Linked DNA regions of Homo sapiens: regions 2 and 3 are each linked to region 1. Evidence: promoter capture Hi-C in 16 types of primary human blood cells and fetal thymus (Javierre and others, 2016). All regions are on one chromosome and are shown on one strand. Each heading gives the region's core, a stretch centred on a gene start or on the middle of the fragment in contact. The rest is flanking DNA. Distances are from core to core; before and after follow the strand shown. Region 1 holds the start of DYNC1LI2 (dynein cytoplasmic 1 light intermediate chain 2). Region 2 holds the start of WWP2 (WW domain containing E3 ubiquitin protein ligase 2). Region 3 overlaps SF3B3 (splicing factor 3b subunit 3).

What was found. Contacts are between HindIII fragments. The CHiCAGO score rates a contact against its expected background, and 5 or more counts as called.
Region 2: the fragment with the promoter of WWP2 here is called in contact with the fragment with the promoter of DYNC1LI2 in region 1 in 5 of 17 cell types (activated CD4 T cells, monocytes, non-activated CD4 T cells and 2 more); the score reaches 8.7 in activated CD4 T cells.
Region 3: a contact is called between a fragment that was not itself captured here and the fragment with the promoter of DYNC1LI2 in region 1, in 5 of 17 cell types (naive CD8 T cells, total B cells, non-activated CD4 T cells and 2 more). The highest score is 7.8, in naive CD8 T cells.

Annotation. Positions count from the first base shown.
Region 1 is chr16:66,749,436-66,753,409 of GRCh38, forward strand. It overlaps DYNC1LI2 (dynein cytoplasmic 1 light intermediate chain 2), which reads right to left and starts at 2,174. Exons shown (of 13, transcript NM_006141.3): 1 at 2,050-2,174; 2 at 1,838-1,911. The coding sequence starts at 2,156. It overlaps DYNC1LI2-DT (DYNC1LI2 divergent transcript), which reads left to right and starts at 2,317. Exons shown (of 2, transcript NR_133569.1): 1 at 2,317-3,465; 2 at 3,561-3,974. RefSeq lists a silencer at 1,802-2,601 and an enhancer at 1,815-2,530. The HindIII fragment of the contact is 3,643 bases long and covers 1-3,103 here.
Region 2 is chr16:69,760,274-69,764,653 of GRCh38, forward strand. It overlaps WWP2 (WW domain containing E3 ubiquitin protein ligase 2), which reads left to right and starts at 2,059. Exons shown (of 24, transcript NM_001270454.2): 1 at 2,059-2,118. RefSeq lists an enhancer at 1,864-2,442 and silencers at 2,146-2,285, 2,306-2,465, 2,486-2,535. The HindIII fragment of the contact is 2,162 bases long and covers 1,461-3,622 here.
Region 3 is chr16:70,530,443-70,534,860 of GRCh38, forward strand. SF3B3 (splicing factor 3b subunit 3) reads left to right here. Exons shown (of 26, transcript NM_012426.5): 4 at 303-475; 5 at 2,037-2,178. Among named protein-coding and RNA genes, the nearest start is that of SNORD111B, 3.2 kb to the left of the region's middle. The HindIII fragment of the contact is 1,417 bases long and covers 1,292-2,708 here.

The DNA of each region.
Region 1 (3,974 bases), core at 924-3,423:
CCTGCTTTCATAAACAAAGGACTTTGCTGGAAGAGTGGTTGGGAGGGTGGGGAGGAGAGGGTGGTAAAGGCAGCAAATTCCAAGATCTAAAATGACATTCTACTGCAGTTATCCTTACTTCAAAAGGGAAATAATGAGGCAGGTCCACAGGCCCTATCTATAATTTATAAGACATGCATTCGGAGAAGTGAAAGTAAAAGGTAGGGTTAGTTTCTCACAAGAAAAAGTTTCACCACAAGAAAAACAAGAAATCTTCAAAATATGATACAATTAACCTAAAAGTCCAGGTACTGTGAACTAAAAAAAGTCTGATCCTGCTTCACAATGGTGAAGAATGGAAGTTATTCACTTTTGATTTTAGTACATCTCCTTCACAAACATTCTGAAGGCTAAGAAACTGACGAAAATAATTATAGACCTAGCAAAACTCTTCAGTACAATCTCAGTTAATTATTAAGCACTTCTTCATCTCCCTCCACCCAAACAACACCCCCCTTCCCCGGATCCTTAAACATCAAGGAGAACCATCGCCAAACATTACTAGGCACTTCTGCCATTTAATAATATGGAATTACAGAACATGAGAATTGAAAGGCAGTCAGTCCACAGATCAAAGACCTCCTCTCCATCTCCAATGCCTCTACCTTATTCAGGCCCTCTGCATCCAGACCAAGGTGAGGACCTGTCAGCCTGACTTCAGTACCTGCTCATTTTGAGCTACTGTCCCTCTGCAGGCAGCGTTCTTTCTAAAACTCAGATCTGGTGATCTTGATCCCCCACTTCTTGAAGATCTCTAAGGGTCCGGTATTACCTACCACAGTCAATTCCTGAGAAAGGTCACACATTCTAACAGTAGGAAAACTACCAAGGCAGTGATTCCCATGGGAATTGGGGGATGGAGGTGAGATAAAAGCCATTTGAAAAATCAGAGAACTTCAGGAAACAGCACTAACTCTTCAGCCTTCCCACAATCTGCCCCCAACTTACCTTAGCAGCCACCAACCACAAGGCGCTTCTAGCAGTTTCCAAACCCCACACCCTCTTGTCATCTGTGTCCCTGCATACTGACACTTTTCTGCAAAATACTCAACCCCCGAATCATCCTCCTTCACCAGCTCTAAGCAGTGTAATGCTTCCACAATAATCGGCATGGTGCAATGCAATCACCAATACATCTGTCTTCCACCAGACTGAGATTCTTCTATAGTGTTTAAGAGTCGCCTATGCTGAGCCTGTGCCCAGCCCACAGGTCCCAAGCAACAAATGGACTTGCTGTGTGAATGTACCCAAACTCCCTCACTTGAGGAGAGTGAGGCCAGAGGGAGTAAGGGACCTGACTCAGGTAACCTAGCAGTGAGGGCTAGCATAATGGAGGAAACGTCCCCAGTGCTGACTCTCTGTCCTCTGCAAAGTCCCTAAAACCTCGGACTATGCACTACTGATGAGGCTCAAAGAAGGCTCCCGTGGTCATTTCCCCACAGCTCCGAGCCCAGGTCACCTCGTTCTCCCACCTTCTCCACCTAATCTCATCTACTAGCTTCCCCTCTCCACGACCTCAATTTGGTAACCGTCGAGGCAATGAAGGCATAGAGGGCCAAGTGACTGAAACAATATGCCGACAACCCCAAAGCACCACTACGCTCTCCAAAGAGGGCAGCATCCCACCCTCAGGCGCTGGAGGCTTGACCACTCTCCAGCTGACCGGCCAGGGCCGACGGTCCCTTTCCCGCCAGGCTGCGGGCAGGCGGCTGGAACGGGGAAGGCGGGGACCTGAGGGAGGGGCGCCCGCCTCGCCCACCCCAGCGACCTGGGGCAACGCCCCGCCGCCGGCGCTCACCGAAGACCAGGATGTTCTTGCCGGACGGCAGCTTGGACCTGGCGCGGGTGGACACTTCGCTCAGAATGGAGGACCTGTGGCGACAATGGCAAGAGTGGTCAGCCCCGGGCCGGGCTGGGATGGCCCGGCTCGCGTCGGCCCCTCAGTGTGTCCGACGGTCCGGCCCAGAGGCCGCGCCCCCCACGGCCCGGCCCGACCGCCCGCGGCCTCACCATAGGCTCTGGCCTTCCTCCTCCTCACTGGTCAGGTCGCCGGCGGCCGCCACCGCGGGCCCGTTGGGACCTAGCAGCAGCTTCTTCTCCACCCCCACCGGCGCCATCTTGCCAACTGCAGCCACAAAGAGGGCCCTCCCCCGGGCCCGCCGAGGACCCGCGAGGACCCGGGCCGGGCCGCCCCCCGCTCGCCGTCCCTCGCGCCGCGCCGCCCGCCGACCTTGCCGCGGCGACTGCGCCGCCCAACGTGTCCTCTAGGTCTGCGATGGCCACGGGCTCCCACGGGTTGCGAGGCCGCCGAGGTGGCGGGCGGCGGTCAGGCAGCCGCCGGGGCAGCCATGCGCGGGGAGGCGGTGGCAGGGGCGGGCACCGTCCGGACCGAGGGCGCGCTGGCGGCCTCTGCCGGCTGAGGGGCGCAGCGCAGCACCCCGCCACGCTCGCCGATTCCCCTGCGCCGTCGCGGGTCGGGCAGCCGGATGACCGACCCGAAAGCCTAGGCTTTGGGAATGAGACTGATGGACACAAAAGCGCCATTTATCTAGAGCTCACCATGTGCCAGAGTCACACATTATCTCACTGAATCTTATCTAACCCTTTCACAGATGAGGAACCTGAAGCTCAAAAAATTTAAGAAACCCACCCAAGGACCCAAGGCTAGAAGATAACATTCGGTACTTCTAATTTATTCCCCAACCTTGGACCATTATATCATGAACTTGGCCTAACCCTACTCAAGCCCTGCATTGAAAGACTAGCCTTAAGGAAGACCCCAGAATCCTCATAAATATCCTGCATTTCCCCCTCCTCCTCCGAAGACTAAAGACTGTGAAGTAGTGCTCTTGACCGCAGTGCATAATACACTTGGCTTTGCTTTATTAACATGCTTTTTAAAATGATGTTTTCAGGGAGCCAGCATTTCACACCAGAAGAGGAGCCCTTAATTTCCTTGGGGGCCAGCTGGCAGGTGCAGAGCGGGGAGAAAAATAAAAGGAAAGGGGATGGAAAAGGGAAAGAGCGGAGAGTAACCGAAGGAAAAACATACATTCCATTATCAAGCTTAATTTTAGGTGTGGCCTCTACTTGAGGGCTCTTGCCATTCTCTATGGAAACAGGCTAACAAGACATTTCTAAATATCACAAGGAAGTGGAATGTGGCAGAAAAGCACCACCTAAGTAGGTTTCAGATGAGTAGGATTGTGATCCTGATGCCAAAAAATCTGGCGGCATGAATTACGGGATAAAACAAATGGGCATATCATCTGCCAAACTGGATGTAAGGTTTAAACAAGACGAGAGTGAAAACCCACTGAGTTCCTCCCTTGGAAATCTGGGAAAATCAGGCAAAGTGCCAGAAGTCCTAAAAGGGCAAGCAGTGCTGAATTTTCACAGGACAGAAGATGGAGATGAAAATTACAGGCCAGTGAGCTTAATCAGCACTAAGTGAAATTTTGTGATTAAACACTAAAGGAAAAGAGAATACCAGATTTACACAGTATCTTTCTTTTTTGCAGGAGTACCAGGTAGGCGGATGCTGCAGATACAGCAAATGCAGATTTCAACAGGGCATTTGACAATTCACATCTTAGATGCGAAAGTGAAATCAATGCTGGATGATAGCACTGAGGCTTATTAAAGACTAGCCCAGAGGTGGCTGATGAAGAGGAGGGACCAGCAGATGAGGCTGCTAGGGGCCTGCCCAAACCTCCTGCCCTGGCCAGCCAATTCAGGGTGCCATCAGTGACTTGGATAAGAATACAGCAGCAGTCATGGAAGTTGTGGATGACCTGAAGCAGGAAGGGTTGCCTTATCTACTGCATGACAAACTGAGCAGAGACTAAATCTAACAAGTTGAAATTTAGCAGGAACTATTAAAGTCCTGTGGAAGAGTTTAACAAAAAAGCATAGGAAGGCCAGGTACGGTGGCT
Region 2 (4,380 bases), core at 809-3,308, 3.0 Mb after region 1:
AAAGTTAATCTCTTGGATTTGGAGTGGTACTACAAAAAGTAGAGACTAAGTGTTCAACCTATTTATTTATTTAGATACAGAGTCTCACTCTGTCGCCCAGGCTGGAGTGCAGAGGCGTTATCATGGCTCACTGCCACCTCCGCCTCCCGGGTTCAAGCAATTCTCCTGCCTCAGGTTCTGGAGTACCTGGGATTACCCGCACCCGGACCATGCCCGGCGAATCTTTTTTTTTTTTTTTTTTGTAGTTTTAGTAGAGATGGGGTTTCACCAGGTTGGCCAAGTGGGTTTCGAACTCCCGACCTCAGGTAATCCACCTGCCTCTGCCTCCCAAAGTGCTGGGATTACAGGCGTGAGCCTCCACGCCCCACCAGCCAATTTAATTTGTATGCATGATAGAATCCATCCCAATTCGAAGACCCAAAAATAACAGATTAGTACAAGTCTTTGAGGCTAATTACGTCATTAGTATTAATTTTAATCAATGGTGATTAAACTGAGCCTTCATTCAACTTGTCCAGAACATCAGTCAAGAATGTCTATTTAAAATGTTCTTGGAGGCCGGGCGCATTGGCTCACGCCTATAATCTGAGCACTTTGGGAGGCCAAGGCAGGTGGATCATCTGAGGTTAGGAGTTTGAGACCAGCCTGGCCAACATGGTGAAACCCCATCTCTATTAAAAATACAAAAATTAGCCAGGCATGGTGGTGGGTGCCTGTAGTCCCAGCTACTCAGGAGGCTGAGGAAGGAGAATTGCTTGAACCTGGGAGGCAGAGGTTGCAGTGAGCCAAGATTGAGCCACTGCACTCCTGCCTGGGCTACAAGAGTGAAACTCTGTCTCAAGCAAGCAAATAAATAAATAAATAAATAAATAAATAAAGTTATTGGGCAGGCACAGTGGCATTCGCCTGTAGTCTCAGCTACTTGGGAGGCTGAAGCAAGAGGACTGCTTGAAGCTGGGAGTTCGAGCCCAGCCAAAGCAACCTATCCAGACCCATCTCTTAAAAAAAATATTTCTCTGCCAGGTGCGGTGGTTCATGCCTGTAATCCCAGCACTTTGGGAGGCCAAGGTGGGCGGATCATTTGAAGTCAGGTGTTCGAGACCAGACTGGTCAACATGGAGGAACCCTGTCTCTACTAAAAATGCAAAAATTAGCCAGGCGTGGTGGTGCACGCCTGTAATCCCAGCTACTCGGGAGGCTGAGGCAGGAGAATTGCATGAACCGGCGAGACGGAGGTTGCAGTCAGCTGAGACTGCACCACTGCACTCCAGCCTGGGCGACAGAGCGAGGCTCCATCTCAAAAAAAAAAAAAAAAATATCATCTATCTATCCACCTACCTACCTACCTACCTACCTGGATTATAATTCATTAAGTTCTCTGTGCCCTGTAGTTGTAGATTAAGGGAATGCGATTGGATTAGTGTGGAGGGGCTTTTTATGGAGCCAAGCAGGAGTTTTTAAGCTTTTGTACTTTTGCTTCATGTCACAAGGACAGATGCCCCACAAAGGCTGAGATGTTTGTGGTCCTGGATCTTAGAACAGTGCCTGGCACATAATAGGCATAAGGTTGCCAGGAAATAGAAATACAGATACTCAATTCAATTTGATCTTCAGATAATCAAAAAATACTTTTTTTAGTATAAATATGTCCCATTCTGTATTTGGGACATACATATTACACTGTTGTTTATCTGAAATTCAAATTTAAGTGGGTGTCCTGTACTTTATCTGGCAACCCTACTAAAGGAGCTCAATTAAGTATTTGCTGACTTAACAGTCTGAAGGTCTCGTTTCACCTGTAAAATGGGGCTAGTACCTGTCCCTGCCTCTATAAGGTTGATGGGCAGAGTAGGTGGCATTCAGTGAGCCCTCAATTTATTTGATTGCCTGGGACCATCCGGTGAGCAGAAACCCTTCCACTTTCAACTACAGAGACGATAAAAAGGCCTCCTCGAGGCCAGAGGTGCCCAGGCCAGGCCTAGGTGGCCCGCACCTGCGAGCCTGGCCAGCCTCTTCCGGGTCAGGTGACCGCGCGCGGTCACGTGACCCGGCCCGAGTGCGGGCGGTGGAAGGCGGAAGTAGGAGAGGAGTTCGGCGCCGCTTCTGTGGCCACGGCAGGTAGCGAGCGCTGGCGCGGGGGGCGCGGTGGGCTGGCTGCCTGCACGGGGCGGGCCGGGGGCGGCGGGCGGCGCGGGGTGGGCCGGGGGCGGCGCGGCCCGGGCGTCGGGGGGCGGCGGCTTCCTGTGGGAGGGGCCTGGCGCGGCGGTTCCGGCCTCCGAGGAGGGGTGTCCCGGCTCCCGCCCGAGTGGGGTGGGCGCGCCGCGGCCCGCGCGGGGGTTGCTCCGAAATGGGTGCCCCGGCCGCCAAGGGTGCAGCTGGAGCGAGTCCTCCCGGAAGGGGAGAGGAGCTTAGGTTCCCAGGCATGGAGAGGAGCGATCTTTGTGGAGGGATCGGGACCAGGGGAAGGGGCGACTTGGAACTGAGCTGGAAGGGGGTGCCTGAAAATGGGTTTATGGCGTGGAGCCAGAGGGAAAAAGATGCTGCCTGGACCCCCTCTGAGAGTCTCTCCCTTCCTTCCTGTTTGGAAATGATTGTTACCCGAGACTTTGATGACGGTCCCATTCAGTTTTTAAACTTCAGGAGGGATCACAGAATCTTGATCGTCTTGCTTCCCTCGCGCCCACTTAGTCCTGCGTGGGTAGGGTTTCCACTTCTTGGGAGCCTAGCCCTTCAGCTCATTTTTCTTTGAGATTTTCCCTGAACGGGCCATCATCGAGGCTTTAAAAAACAAAAAAAGAAAATAAATTAAAAAAATAAGTGTGGGCACTTTGCCTGTAAAATGGCTTTTAGCTTACACTGTTGACCTAGCCCAGCGTTACCTCAGCAACATAGTGACTGCTGAAATCTTGGACAGAGAAGTGTCTACCTAGACTGCTTTATGACTTTTCTCTTTCTTCCGTTTAAATTATTCAGTTTCCCTTAGCTTATCTTGTGACTGCTTATCTTGACGAACTGTAACTAGGTAGGGTGCCTGAGAGGTCTGTGTTATGTTCCTTAGAACTGTGACCTGGATCATGATTTTGAGATTGAATACTTGTGTTAAAGCCTGTTCATCTTCCTGTTTCTCATGTTTACTAAAATTTGCAGAAGCAAAAGGAGTTTCATGAGTGCAGTGTAACTGGAACGAATGTTCAAACTGGACATTCACAGCAGCCAGCATCGTTTTGGGTTACAAGTAGGAAAAAGTACTTTCCTAATGTATTATGAGTTCAAGTTTTTGGAGTTATTTGACAAACATTTAAAAATTAGTTTTTGCAGCAGCGCCTATGAGTGAGGTTGGGAAGATGTATTCTCATTTCACAGGGAACAAACAGACTTACGAGAGACGACTTGATTTTTTAAAACAATTTATTGCTCTTTCTTGTTTGCTGGCCTCTTCCTGCTAGATTGCAAATCCTTCAAGGGCAGGTTTCATATTTTATTTGGCTGCTAGCCTAGTGCCTGGCATGTTGTGAGCACTTGATAAATATTTGGTGAATAAATGCATTTCTAAAAGTCACACCGGCGTAAGTGGTGACAAAGGATTTGAACCCAAGTCTTCTACTCTTTTTCTTGTCAGAGAAGCTTGTGATTATCTGTGTCATTGGTCCATATGAAAACAGGCTCGAGAGAAAGGCTTGGATTGGCTTCTCAGTCTCTTTCACTTCATGATTACTTTCCCATTTACAAAGAGCGTATACCAACATCTCACTTAACCTTCCCTTTGAAATTGGGATGGTCAGTATTGTCCCTATATCACATGAAGAGACTGAGGCTTAATGAAGTCCTTACTTTAGATTTCAGAGCTAGTAAATGAGTAGGGACTCAAGCCCAGACCCTTAATCCTTAGATCCATTCTTTTTCATTTATTGACACAATAGAAAATTTTATTTTTATTTTATTTTGAGACAGGATCTTACTCTGTTGCCCAGGCTGGAGTGCAGTGGCACAATCACGGCTCACTGTAACCTTGACCTGCCTGGGCTCGGGTGATCCTCCCATGTCTGCCTCCCAAACAGCTGGGACTACAGGTGGGTGCCACCTCGCCTGGCTAATTTTTGTAGAGACAGGGGTTTTGCTATGTTGCCCGGGCTGTTTTCAAACTCCGGGGCTCAAGCGATCCTCCCACCTCGGCCTCTCAAAGTGTTGCAATTACAGGTGTAAGTCACCATGCCCAACTGAAAGTTTTATTTTTACATAATTTTTCAGGAATAAAAAGTGTAACATTTTAAGGAAAAAGATCACACAGAAAAAGTTGTGAATGTAGAATGTGAGTAAATGAAGTTTAGAAAACGCTGTACTCTACCATAGCTTCCTCTTCCTGGGAAAACATTCTTTCAT
Region 3 (4,418 bases), core at 750-3,249, 3.8 Mb after region 1:
CCAAGTAGCTGGGATTAGAGGCATGCACCACCACACCTAGCTAATTTTTTGTATTTAGTAGAGACAAGGTTTTACTGTGTTAGTCAGGCTGGTCTTGAACTCCTGACCTCAGGTGATCCACCCACCTCAGCCTCCCAAAGTGCTATTCTGATGATAGAAAACAGAATCCTGAGTTTTTATACTTGTAGAGTTACTGCTGTTAATAATGATTAAAAGAAAAGCATGATGTGACTCTAGCTGTTCTATAAGTCTCTCTTCTCATTATCTGGGAATCTTGTATGTTTTATCTCCTTCAACTACAGGTGCCATTGAGAAACAGAAATTGGTGTATATTTTGAACAGAGATGCTGCAGCCCGACTTACCATTTCATCTCCCCTGGAAGCCCACAAAGCAAACACTTTAGTGTATCATGTAGTTGGAGTAGATGTCGGATTTGAAAATCCAATGTTTGCTTGTCTGGAAATGGATTATGAGGTAATGGGGACCCTGTCTCTTTGCGTTTCTTTCAGTCACCTCAGTGTTTTTTTTTAAGATTGTTTTCCGGCCGGGCGTGGTGGCTCACGCCTGTAATCCCAGCACTTTGGGAGGCAAGGCTGGCGGATCATGAGGTCAGGAGATCGAGACCATTCTGGCTAACACAGTGAAACCCCATCTCTACTAAAAATACAAAAAGAAAATAGCCGGGCATCGTGGCGGGCGCCTGTGGTCCAGCTACTCGGGAAGCTGAGGCAGGAGAATGGCGTGAACCCGGGAGGTGGAGCTTGCAGTGAGCCGAGATCTCGCCACTGCACTCCAGCCTGGGCGACAGAGTGAGACTCCATCTCAAAAAAAAACGAAAAGATCGTTTTCTTCCTTGTGCATACCTTTTTTTCTTTTTTTTGAGACAGTCTTGCTCTGTTGCCCAGGCTGGGGTGCAGTGGCACAATCTCAGCTCGCTGCAACCTCTGCCTCAGCCTCCTGAGTAGCTGGGACTACAGGTGCTGCCACAACGCCCAGCTAATTTTTGTATTTTTAGTAGAGATGGGGTTTCACTATGTTGGCCAGGCTGGTCTTCTGACCCCAGGTGATTGGCCCACCTCAGCCTTCCAGAGTGCTGGGATTATAAGGCCTGAGCCACCTCACCCAGGCCCAGCCCCTTATGCATATCTTAATTCTGTCCTGCTAGCAGATCTTCATATTCCAAATGCCTTACTGAAATTCTTTGGGATGCTTCAGAGGTTAAGCAACTATTTAATAGTCTTTCTCTGATTTAAGTAATCTCCCTATGGAAACAAGATATTTATTGGGAAAAGCTTCATGAAAAACTTGAAGCTATGTTTAAGGTATTTTTTCACAGAACATACTATTGTTTTCCTTTAACGGAAGGCAGTATCCTCTAGTAGAGAGCTCCCTGGATCCAGAATTTGGAGATTGCAGTTCTCGTTCTAGCTCTGCCATTATCTTATAGCATAAACTTTGTCAAACTATTTGGCGTCAGCCAGGTGTGGTGGCATGTGCCTATAGTCCTAGCTGCTTGGGAGCCTGAGGCCCAGGAATTCTAGGCTGCAGTGAGATAAGATTGTACCACTGCAGTCGTGTACAGTGGCTCACGCCTGTAATCCAAGTTTGGGAGGCCGAGGCGGGCAGATCACCTGAGGTCAGGAGTTCGAGACCAGCCTGACCAACATGGAGAAACCCCATCTCTACTAAAAATACAAAATTAGCCAGGCGTGGTGGCACATGCTTGTAATCCCAGCAACTCGGGAGGCTGAGGCAGGAGAATCACTTGAACCTGGGAGGTGGAGGTTGTGGTGAGCTGAGATCGTGCCATTGCACTCCAGCCTGGGCAACGAGCAAAACTCCGTCTCAAAAAAAAAAAAAGATCATACCTCTGTGCACTGCAGCCTGGGTGACATAGTGAGAACCTGTCTCTCCAAAAAAAAAAGAAGACATTTGTGGACTTCTGTTTCCTCATTTGTAAATTGGAGTCCTGATGTCCTTTCCAGATCTTCGATTTTATGCTGATGATTAGTTTTTATGCCACTATTCTCTGTAGGAAGCAGACAATGATCCAACAGGGGAAGCAGCAGCTAATACCCAGCAGACACTTACTTTCTATGAGCTAGACCTTGGTTTAAATCATGTGGTCCGAAAATACAGTGAACCTTTGGAGGAACACGGCAACTTCCTTATTACAGGTACTTTTCTTTCAGAGCTGCTTTGTACCCTTTTACTTGGTTCATTTTATGCCCAAACCTAATAGGTTTTACTTAAAGGGTTTGGGAATTAATCCATTTGTTGTGAACCTGAATACCTTATCTTTTGGACAGGTTAGAAGTTCATGTGGTGGAGTGATTTTAAAAAGTGTTGGGGATAAAGACTGCCTAGCTCCTTAATAACTCATATTCTACTGAGGGCAGGGAAGAGAAGTTGAAGGGAGCAGTCAGCTTGGAATATTGATTACTGTTAGTTGCTGTGACAGTTTGGCTGTAGTCAGTCTTTGCCTCTCATTCAAACCTAACTCTTTCAAAAGCCAAACAAAATGGACAGACCCCACAAGATGGAACTTGTGAATTTGAAAACTTAAACAAAATAGAAATATTTTTGAAGACGATTACCAGATTGATCCAAAAATAAATTAAGAACTTCAATAGACCAGCGTTAGAGAAATTGAAGCAGTAGTCCAAAGTCACTCTCCCAAAAGATTGAGGTCCAGGATTTTCAGGAAAGCTTTTATCTTCTTGTTGAGGGACATATATGTATTCCGTTTTAAAACAAGTTTCTCGGCTGGGCATGGTGGCTCACGCCTATAACCCTAGCACTTTAGGAGGCTGAGGCAGGAGCATCACTTGATCTCAGGAGTTTGAGACCATCCTGGGAAACAAGGTGAGATCTTGTCTCAATGAAAAAGTAAATATTAAAAAAAAAAGTAAAACAGATTTCTCTAGAGTAGAAAAAGAGTAAATGCTACTGTGCCGCTCTCTGAGTCTAGTATGACTACAGTATCAAAACTAGGGATGGACAGTAACAAAAAAAATTTGCAGGCTAGTTCATACGGTTGTAGATAGGAAAAGCTAACATTCCAGCAAATCAGATTCAGTGTTTTAAATGCACATAGCTAAGTAACGTTTTTGGAGGAGCTAAAAAATGGAAAATATTTTCATGGTTGGAAATCAGTTCACCATTGGAAAATACACGTTACTAATTGATTATATTAAAAGACTAAATGAGTACAGCTACATTTGTGGTCATCTGCATTTCAGCAGGCTTGGGGAAAACTGATCTAGTTCTATTTTGAATCATTTGCACTTCAACTGATGTCTAAAATAAGATGTTGTTTGGGGAAGATACTGGAGAATAAAAATAAAGGACAGCACTTACCTTTGTTAATACGTTAAGCAGATGAATTTTTGATCACACATCTCATTACTTGTAACATATTACCATACCTTTCATTTACAAGGGCTTTTTCATTCTTTCAACACATTTTTATTGAGCCTTTGCAGTCAGTATGTGCTAAGTCAGTCTGCTGGATCTTGGGACTTCAGTGGTGAAAAATTAGACGTGGTGCCGCCTTTGTGCAAGATTGAGTCTGGTGGTGAATACAGATAAATAACCAAAACAATTACCAGAAACTGTGCCAAATGCCATGACAGCACAGAGAAGAGGTTCCCTAAACAGGGAAAGGAAACGAATGTGTTACAGAAAGCTTGCTGGAGTCTCTAAGCTGAGATCTGAGGGCTAGTTAGAAGTTAGCTAGGTGCAGTTGGAGTGGGAGAGGAAGTTTCAGTTGTAGGCAAAGGGAACAGCATTTACAAAAGCCTAAATACAAGAAATAACATGGTCCATTCAAATAATTAAAAGCTCATTATGATTTAATTATTAAGGGACTGGGGTAGGAGTAGGGGTGGGGTGAAAGCTACTGAAGGATTCTAAGTAGGGAAATAATCTGATAGGTTGACAACCTTAGAAAGATTAATTGCTTACATTTTGGCTAATGAAATGGAGGATATTAAGACTGTAAGAGGGGAGACTGATGAGGACATTAAGAGATACTGGTAGCTGCTAAGGAGGTAGAATCAATAGGGCTTTGGGAGGAGAGAGAATTGAAGGATTATACTCAGGTGTCTGGTTTGGTCTGTTGATGGTAGTATTCTCTAAGGTGGAGAATCTAGGAGGTGGAGCAGGGTTGGGAAGGAACTTGAGTTTGTTTATGAACATGCTGTTACTTTATTTTATTTTTATTTTATTTATTTACGTTCTTGAGACAGAATCTCGCACTGTTGCCCAGGCTAGAGCACAGTGGCACGATCTTGGCTCACTACAACCTCCACCTCCTGGGTTTAAGCAGTTCTCCTGCCTCAGCCTCCCGAGTAGCTGGGATTACAGGCGCCCACCACCATGCCTGGCTAATTTTTGTAGTTTTAGTAGAGACGGG